Regions from separate parts of the Homo sapiens genome. Here region 2 is linked to region 1. Evidence: promoter capture Hi-C in 16 types of primary human blood cells and fetal thymus (Javierre and others, 2016). All regions are on one chromosome and are shown on one strand. Each heading gives the region's core, a stretch centred on a gene start or on the middle of the fragment in contact. The rest is flanking DNA. Distances are from core to core; before and after follow the strand shown. Region 1 holds the start of AGK (acylglycerol kinase). Region 2 holds the start of MKRN1 (makorin ring finger protein 1).

Evidence for each region. The method cuts DNA at HindIII sites, captures the fragments that hold promoters and counts their contacts. A CHiCAGO score of 5 or more calls a contact.
Region 2: a fragment that was not itself captured here is called in contact with the fragment with the promoter of AGK in region 1 in 10 of 17 cell types (total B cells, naive CD4 T cells, naive B cells and 7 more); the score reaches 15.3 in total B cells.

The regions. Positions count from the first base shown.
Region 1 is chr7:141,549,652-141,553,585 of GRCh38, forward strand. AGK (acylglycerol kinase) reads left to right here and starts at 1,759. Exons shown (of 16, transcript NM_018238.4): 1 at 1,759-1,783. AGK-DT (AGK divergent transcript) reads right to left here and starts at 1,693. Exons shown (of 6, transcript NR_183408.1): 1 at 1,493-1,693. RefSeq lists silencers at 1,554-1,643, 1,824-2,003. The HindIII fragment of the contact is 2,342 bases long and covers 120-2,461 here.
Region 2 is chr7:140,476,082-140,480,015 of GRCh38, forward strand. It overlaps MKRN1 (makorin ring finger protein 1), which reads right to left and starts at 3,424. Exons shown (of 8, transcript NM_013446.4): 1 at 3,079-3,424. The coding sequence starts at 3,263. RefSeq lists silencers at 2,655-2,734, 3,015-3,154, 3,445-3,554 and enhancers at 2,690-3,530, 3,861-3,934. The HindIII fragment of the contact is 221 bases long and covers 1,905-2,125 here.

The DNA.
Region 1 (3,934 bases), core at 509-3,008:
CCTTTTCTTATTTGGGGAACCACTTTCATGCTGAAGCCCTAAAGCATACGCTGAGTCTGACCCTTGGAACATCAAAATCAAGTCTCAGATTTTTCTAGCCTGCAGGTGAGCAGTTCAGAAGCTTATTTCCAAACACAAACGCTTTAGATAGTTGGAAAAGAGGAACTGAAAATAATGGTCTTCCATACCCTATGACAACATTTTAGAGCTAGAAGGGTTTTTTTTTAATAGTAATGTTCTCAGTCCCCTAGTTTACAGATGGAGACTCAGGAGAGAGGGCTAGAAATTTCTTGCTACTAAACAGTGTGGCCCAATGGATTGGTGCACCCTGGCATAAGGAATATGTTTACTGCACCATAGCCTCATTGAAGGTCCCCGCCCCGGCCTTTTTTTTTTGAAGCATTCACCTAGGGAGACATAGGTAGGATGCATGTCTACACGTAGGAAATGTGCAGACTAGATAGCAAGCTCCATGGGGCAGGAACCATGAAGGGCCTTGTACCTGAGCATACCCCCAGTGCCTGATGCAGGGCCTAGTGCACACTCAAATGTTGGTTGACTGGCCGGGTGCGATGGCTCATGCCTATAATCGTAGCACTTTGGGAGGCCAAGGCGGGCAGATCGCTTGAGGTCAGGAGTTCGAGACCAGCCTGGCCAACGTGACAAAACCCCCGTCTTTACTAAAAATACAAAAAAATTTAGCTGGGCCTGGTGGCACACACCTGTAATCCCAGTTACTCGGGAGGCTGAGGCACAAGAATTGCTTGAACCCGGGAAGCAGAGGCTGCAGTGAGCTGAGATTGCACCACTGCACTAGCGCCTGAGCCACAGAGTGAGACCCTGTCTAAAAAAAAAAAAAAGTTGGCAGACTGAATGCTGGAAAGAAGAAGGACCTGGCTTTGTCCCCACACCAATCTGGTGGGCGAGTACAGAATGTAAACTGTCTGGAGGTTGGCATTGGCCTAGCTTCTCCGTTGCTCTCTTGTTCTCTAGAATCCAATCAAGCACCTGTGGCCAGAGAGCTGTGTGAAATGGAAACCAGTCCCACCAGCCCCTGATTGCACCCCCGCAATGTCTTCTCGCCCTGTTTAATGTCATGTCCAAACTCCTGGCCGCCGTGGCCTGTCTCCACCTCTCCAGCTTCCTCGCTTGGCCTGTCTCCTTAGCTCTCTCTGTCTCACCCACACTGGCCTGCAACTCGCCAGAGTGCCCCAGGCTTTTCAGCTTTTGCACGGGCCCTTCCCTCTCCAGGCTCTCTCCCCTGGATCTTTGCTTCAGCTGCTCCTTCTTGACATCCAGGTCTCAGACCAATGGCCCCTTACTCAGAAGGCCTAGCGCAGGCCGCCTAATTTCACACAGTTCTCCCCCTTCCCGCACTGCCTTCCATCACCTCGTTTCATTTTCTTCGTGGCACGGAGCACCATCTCCAATGGCCTTGTTCATTTAGTTAATTTATTTTCCGACTTAGTTCCAGGTGCTAAAACAGTGTTACCTTGGCAGGCTTCCCATCAAATATTGTTGCGCAAAGGATGGATGGATGAAAGGAAGAGTGAGCCAATAAACGAGGGAACGCCGGGAAAGGCAGCCTCAAGCCGGTGGGCCCTGCCACCCCCACCGTCCCTGAGCATCCGAGCCGGTTCCCGCCCCCGGCCCGAACTGGCCCGCGCGCGCTCGCAGCCCCGCGGCGGAACCCGAGGGCGGCGGCAGCGGTTTCCCTTGAACGAGCCGGGGAATCTGGAGGGAGCACACAGGAAAGGCAGAGCCGCGAGCTGGACCAGCCGTGGTGAGTGCAGCGGCGCCCAGGCGGGGAGCGCAGTGCGGGTCGCTGGGACTGAGCGCGCGAGCGGGGTGGGAGTCGGGATGGGGGCCCGGGGCGCTGGGCGGAGCCTCTGGAGTCGCGCTGGGCCGAGAGCCGCGGGGACCCAAGCATCAGGGGTCGTGGGTGCAGGCGGCGGCGCGGCTTGAGGGTAGGGGGTGCGGGCCTGGCCGGCGCGGCAGGGGAGGGCCTCGCGCGGATCCCGTGGTCACGGCGGGAGTCAGCTGTCCTGGGTTCGAGTCCCAGAGCTGTCGCTAACTTGTGGACCCCCCTCACTTCGTCCCTTGGGCTTCAGCATAGCCCTTTGCAAAATGGGGCCAATAGTATCAGATCCATTGATGGGTTGGTTGGTTCATTCATTCTGGCGCTTTACTAGGTTCTGGTGCTGCAGATGGATAGACGAACTTGCCCATGAGGGGTTCACTATCTAGTAAGAAAAACATTTCCACCTGGATACTCCACAGGCGTGTCAAATTCAGTATCTCCTAAACCGCACTACTTTTCTCCACAAACCTACCACTCAAATCTAAATGACTGAAATCACTATTCAACCAGTCACCCAAGCACAAAAACCTGGCTTGGTTCCTCCTCTCTCACTTACTACAGTCAATGGACCACCAACTGCTGCCAATTTCTACTTTCTAAAGCTTTCCAAATCCATCCTTTATCTTGGTTTGTTCTTTTAGGAGCCTACAGATTATGGCAATAACTTCCTAATGGTTCTCTTTAGCTTTAATTTTAGCTTCTTCCAGTTCATTTTTCATTCTGCTATAAAGTGGTCTTTTAACAGTTCAAATATGATTATATCACTCACCTGCTTAAAGCCCATTAAAGGTTTTTCATTGTCTTCAAAATAATAGCCAAAGTCCTTAGTGTGGGTTCAAGGTCTTTTCTAATCCCACCTGGTCTTCAATCCTTTATCTCTAAACCACTGTTTCTCAAAGTCTGGTATAGTGGTGACCTCCATTGCAACCAACATGGGAGTACTTGTTAACAAGTGAAGATGACAGCTTAATTCCAGAACAAATGAGACTCTTGCGGGAAGGGGCAGTTCCCAGGATTCTGTGTTTTTAACAAGTTCTGCACTAAAGGTTGAGAACCCCTGTTCTAGACACTCCAATTTTTACTCCGCTGTTGATGAGATTCAGGACACACTGCCGCAAAATATGACTCGTTGGCATTAGAGGAAACAACTGAAGCAGGAAAGTCACTTTGTGTCTTCCCACTTTTCTCCCCTGAAGCAGGCCATAAAAGAATTGTTTGACCTTCTTCTGTATAAGACCCTTCAGTGAGAGGTGCTCATCCTGTAAGTATAGGATCGAGGAAAGGAATGCCCTTATCTTTGAAGACACAGGTACACAGAGAAGAATCAGAACAAATAGGCCTTGCTAAATTCTCCCCAGCGTATTACTGTTAGATCATACCCCCTTTTTCCAGTCTCAGCCATGAACCTAATTCTCCCCTCAACTATCTACGTATGTTTCTCTCAACACACTTTACTGTCTTTTATGCCTTTGTACACTCTCAGTTTGGGCTACTGTAAAAAAAAAATAGCAAAAACTGGGTGGCTTAAACAACAGAAATTTAATTCTCACAGTTCCGGAGGCTGGAAGTCCAAAGTTAAGGTGCCAGCATGGTTGAGTGCATGGTGATAGCTCTCTTCCTCGGTTTGTAGAGATCTGTCTTCTTGCTGTATCCTCACAATGCAGAGAGACCATCTCTGTAGTGTCTAGTCTCATAAGGACACTAATCCCTTTCATGGGAGCCACTCTTATGACCCAATTATCTCCCGAAGGCTCTATCTCCTAATACCATCTCAATGGGGATAGGGCTTCCACATCACCATTTTTGGGGAACACAGCATTCAGACAATAGCATCCACAAAACTCCTTCGTTACTTTAGTGATTTCCTCCTCATTATTCAAGGCTCAGGGAAGACTTCATTGACTGTGCACCACCCCCTCAGCCCTAGACCAGGTTAGGTTCATTCTTGCAGACTCTCACAAAGCCTTGTGCTGACTCCTCGACATTTATCCCACTGTACTGCAATCATAATTGTATAATTGTGTTAGCATTGTGGGTTTGACAGTTGTGAGCACTTGAGAGAACGCATGAGAC
Region 2 (3,934 bases), core at 765-3,264, 1.1 Mb before region 1:
TGAAGAAAATAGCTTTAGTCAAATTCCTAGATACAGGAGTGATGTGCTATAGGGAGAAATGAGCACAAACACTAAAACACACCTCTACCTGATTCTTTAGGTGATGTTTACCTAGCAAACATATTGAAAATGTTTATTTATAATACAGTACATACATCTGCACTCTCTTGAACACCTAATATTGTGTCTCCCATTGCTGGCGTGCAATGTTTACTTACTGAATGATTGAATAAGGTAGTTCCAGAAAAAATATACATGTGGCCGGGCGTAATCCCACCTACTCAGGAGGCTGAGGCAGGAGAATCGCTTGAACCCAGGAGGCAGAGGTTGCAGTGAGCTGAGATCTCGCCACTGCACTCCAGCCTGGGCGACAGAGCGACACTCCATCTCAAAAAAAAAAAAAAAAAAGGAAGATACACATGTGTTCTGTTAAGTACTTTGTCTTTGGTAATTTACAAGTTTTGTTTTTTTTTTTTTTAATGAAAGCAGAGGAATCTTACAAAGTTCCTGTTAAAGTGGGTAATTCTAGGTATATGACTTTATCAACATCACTCAAGCATTTACTCAGTATCTGCTCAGGATACTCAGTAACTGAGTATCCTGTTCATGATACTGGAACTGAGGAAAGAAACTGAGGAACTGAGGAAAGAAAGCCCTGCAGATAAAATAGGGCCCTACTCTTCTCAGAGAGCTCAAAGTGAACGATAAGGATCATAGACCGGGTGCGGTGGCTCACGCCTCTAATCCCAGCACTTTGGGAGGCTGAGGCCGGCAGATCACCTGAGGTCGGGAGTTCAAGACCAGCCTGACCAACACGGAGAAAGCCCGTCTCTACTAAAAATACAAAATTAGTCAGGTGGGCATGGTGGTGCACGCCTGTAATCCCAGCTACTAAGGCATCTGTAATGCCAGAGACTGAGGCAGGAGAATCAATTAAACCTGGGAGGCGGGGGTTGTGGTAAGTAGAGATCACACCATTGCACTCCAACCTGGGAAACAAGAGGGAAACTCTGTCTCAAAAAAAAAAAAAAAAAAATGATAGTTGACATTCCTCTATCTAAAGGAGAAAATAGTTTTAAGTAAGAGATCATGTTGGTACCTAGAACAACCGAAAACAATGTCAAACACTAAAACCCCAGACCTATCAAGGAATCTGCACAACAATAAAAAACTGTCTCAAGCAAAAGCTATACAAAAAACCCCCAAAAACTAGTAAATCTAAGCTCTTTCTTTTCTTTCTTTTTCTTTTTTGTTTTTCTTCTGACAGAGTTTCACTTTCGCCCAGGCTGGAGTGAAGTGGTGTGATATTGGCTCACCGCAACCTCTGCCTCCTGGGTTCAAGCAACTCCCTGCCTCAGCCTCCGGAGTAGCTGAGATTACAAGCGCCTGTCACCACGCCCGGCTAATGTTTTTTGTATTTTCAGTAGAGACGGGGTTTCACCATCTTGGCCAGGCTGGTCTTGAGCTCCTGACCTCGTGATCCACCTGCCTTGGCCTCCCAAAGTGCTGGGATTACAGGTGTGAGCCACTGTGCCCGGCCTAATTTTTGTATTCTTAGTAGAGACAGGGTTTCACCATGTTGGCCAGGCTGGTCTCGAACTCCTTACCTCAGGCGATCCGCCCGCCTCAGCCTCCCAAAATGCTGGGATTACAGGCGTGAGCCACCACGCCGACCTAGCCACCCCGACAGGCCGGTTTCAATCTTTTAAAAGATGTAACTAGCACATATAGATCAACTGTAGCATTGTAAAAGGGAAACAGATATTCAAATAATTTGCTCCATGAGTAGAAACTTTAAAATCATCATTCCTGGCAATATTCCACTTTTACAATCCACCGATGAATAAGACAAGTGACCTGAAATTGCGTTTATGCTTTCTACATCCCATTATGTAAAATAATTAAGCTTATCCTTCACACCTTAAATGTATCATATCAAAGGCTGAGAGACCTTCGAAGGTCGCCAGGATAAATGTATCACATCAAAGACTGGGAAGGTTTCAAATTTCACCCTTAATACTACAAGTTCTAATTAGGAATCATTTTTACATACTTGCATATAAATTATACCACCCAGGTGAAAACCGGCATTTCAGTTGATTTATTCAACTGATAGAAAAAGAAAAGCTTACAGTCGCTACTGATCACTATTTAAAAACCGGAAAATAAAAAACGTACAATTAAATGCCCTCTTCTGCGTAGAGCTAGGTAGTTTTTTACAACCATACACATCCATACAACCGCCATCCCTTAATTTTTCTAATATTTTCGTCTCGCATATCAAACCAAAACCAAACCTCTCTCTCTTCCGGGAGCGAAGAGCCCTTTCACTCCCTTCGGAAGATGCGTAAATTTCAAAAGAGGAACATAGCGCTGGGGGAGGGTAATAATCTGCAGCTCAAAAAAACCGCGGGTGGAGAAGACGACCCCGGCCCCCGAACGCCTGCTTCTAAGACAAAGCTCAGCACCGCCAACCTCGACAAACATACAAAGAAGAAATACAAAAGCTTCTTCTCACAGTTGGGCGGAGGATGGGGGGCGGAGGGACGGAGGGACGTGAAAAGACGTTACAAACGGATGGCACGGAGAGAGGAGAGGGCCGGGAGCCAGGCAAGCTCGCTGGGGCCCTCGGCGGGGTGTCTAGGCCCGGAGAGGATCGCTGGGAGACCGGCCTCAAGTGACCACCTCCCGAGCCCCGGGAGCCGGAGGCAGCGGCGGGGGCATCCTTCCAGCGGCAGGGGAGGAGCCAGCCCACCTCTCCCCGATGCGCTCGCAGCCAGCTCAGGCAGCGCTCAGGGAAGTGTAAGCGGCGGTGCAGCCCCGCGGCTCCGCAGTAATCGCGCACCGCCAGGCCTCCGCGGACAGCGCTGAGGGCTCCGCGGCCCAGCGGGGGTTGACGCAGTGACTGGGGGAACGCGGCGGCAGCGGGGGCCGCGAGGGCTGCAGAGATCGAGACAACGCCGGTCCCCGCCCTCCCGCGCCTCTAGCCGCAGGCCGGCCGCCCTCCTCCCTCCCGCGCCGCAGGCTTGGCCCGCGGCCCCCTCCCCGCGCCCGGCGCTCCGCCGCGCAACGTCCTACCTGCAGGTGACCTGTTTAGTCCAGCCGCCGCCGCTGCCGTCGCTGCCGCCGCCCCCTCCGCCCGCCCCCAGGGACGGGGCGGTGACTGTGGGGATCGGGGTGGGGGAGGCTGCTGCCGCCGTCGCCGCTGCCGCTCCTGCTCCTGATGTTGTGGCTGTTGTTCCGGGAGTTGCAGCCTCCGCCATTACTGTTTATCCCACACAGCAAAGGCCCCGGAACTTCCGGGATCACATAGTTCCGGTCCGGCTGCGGGGAGAGGACGGCGAGGCCAGGCGAGGGGAGGGGAAGGACACTGAGGCACCCGTTCGGTCCCCGCCTGCTACGCGTCGCGTATCTGAGCGCTCTCGCCACTTCAACTGCGGGCCCAGAGCATGCGCGCCCGCGGCCCGCCCACGGCGCCGCTCATTGGTGGAGGGGACGTCTCCTCCGGAAAGGGGCGGGGCAAACGGGGGTCTGTACAGGTGTGTCCTAGGCTCGAAACCCCGGCGACGAAAGTCCATAGTTAGCGGCTTTCTTCCTAGCAGAGGCTGATATAGTGGAGCTGGGGCTGGGGACTAGGGACTTGCAGTCGGAAGACCTGGGTTTGAATCTGCACTTTCCCATTTCTCTAGTAATATTTGAGCTAGGTACTTGTTCTATCTGAGCCTCCGTTTCAGCCTCTCTCGAATAAGGATGACAGCAGACCCACATATGGTTGCTGTGAGGATTATATGATGTCCTTAGAAATCACTGAGCTTAGTGCCTGGTACATGGTAAACACTTAATAAAGGTTATCTCATTCCTGGTATCAGAGATGTGATCTTGGCCAAGTATTTTGGCTGAGCAATGCTCTAGAGGGCTGGTCCCCTTATCTCCA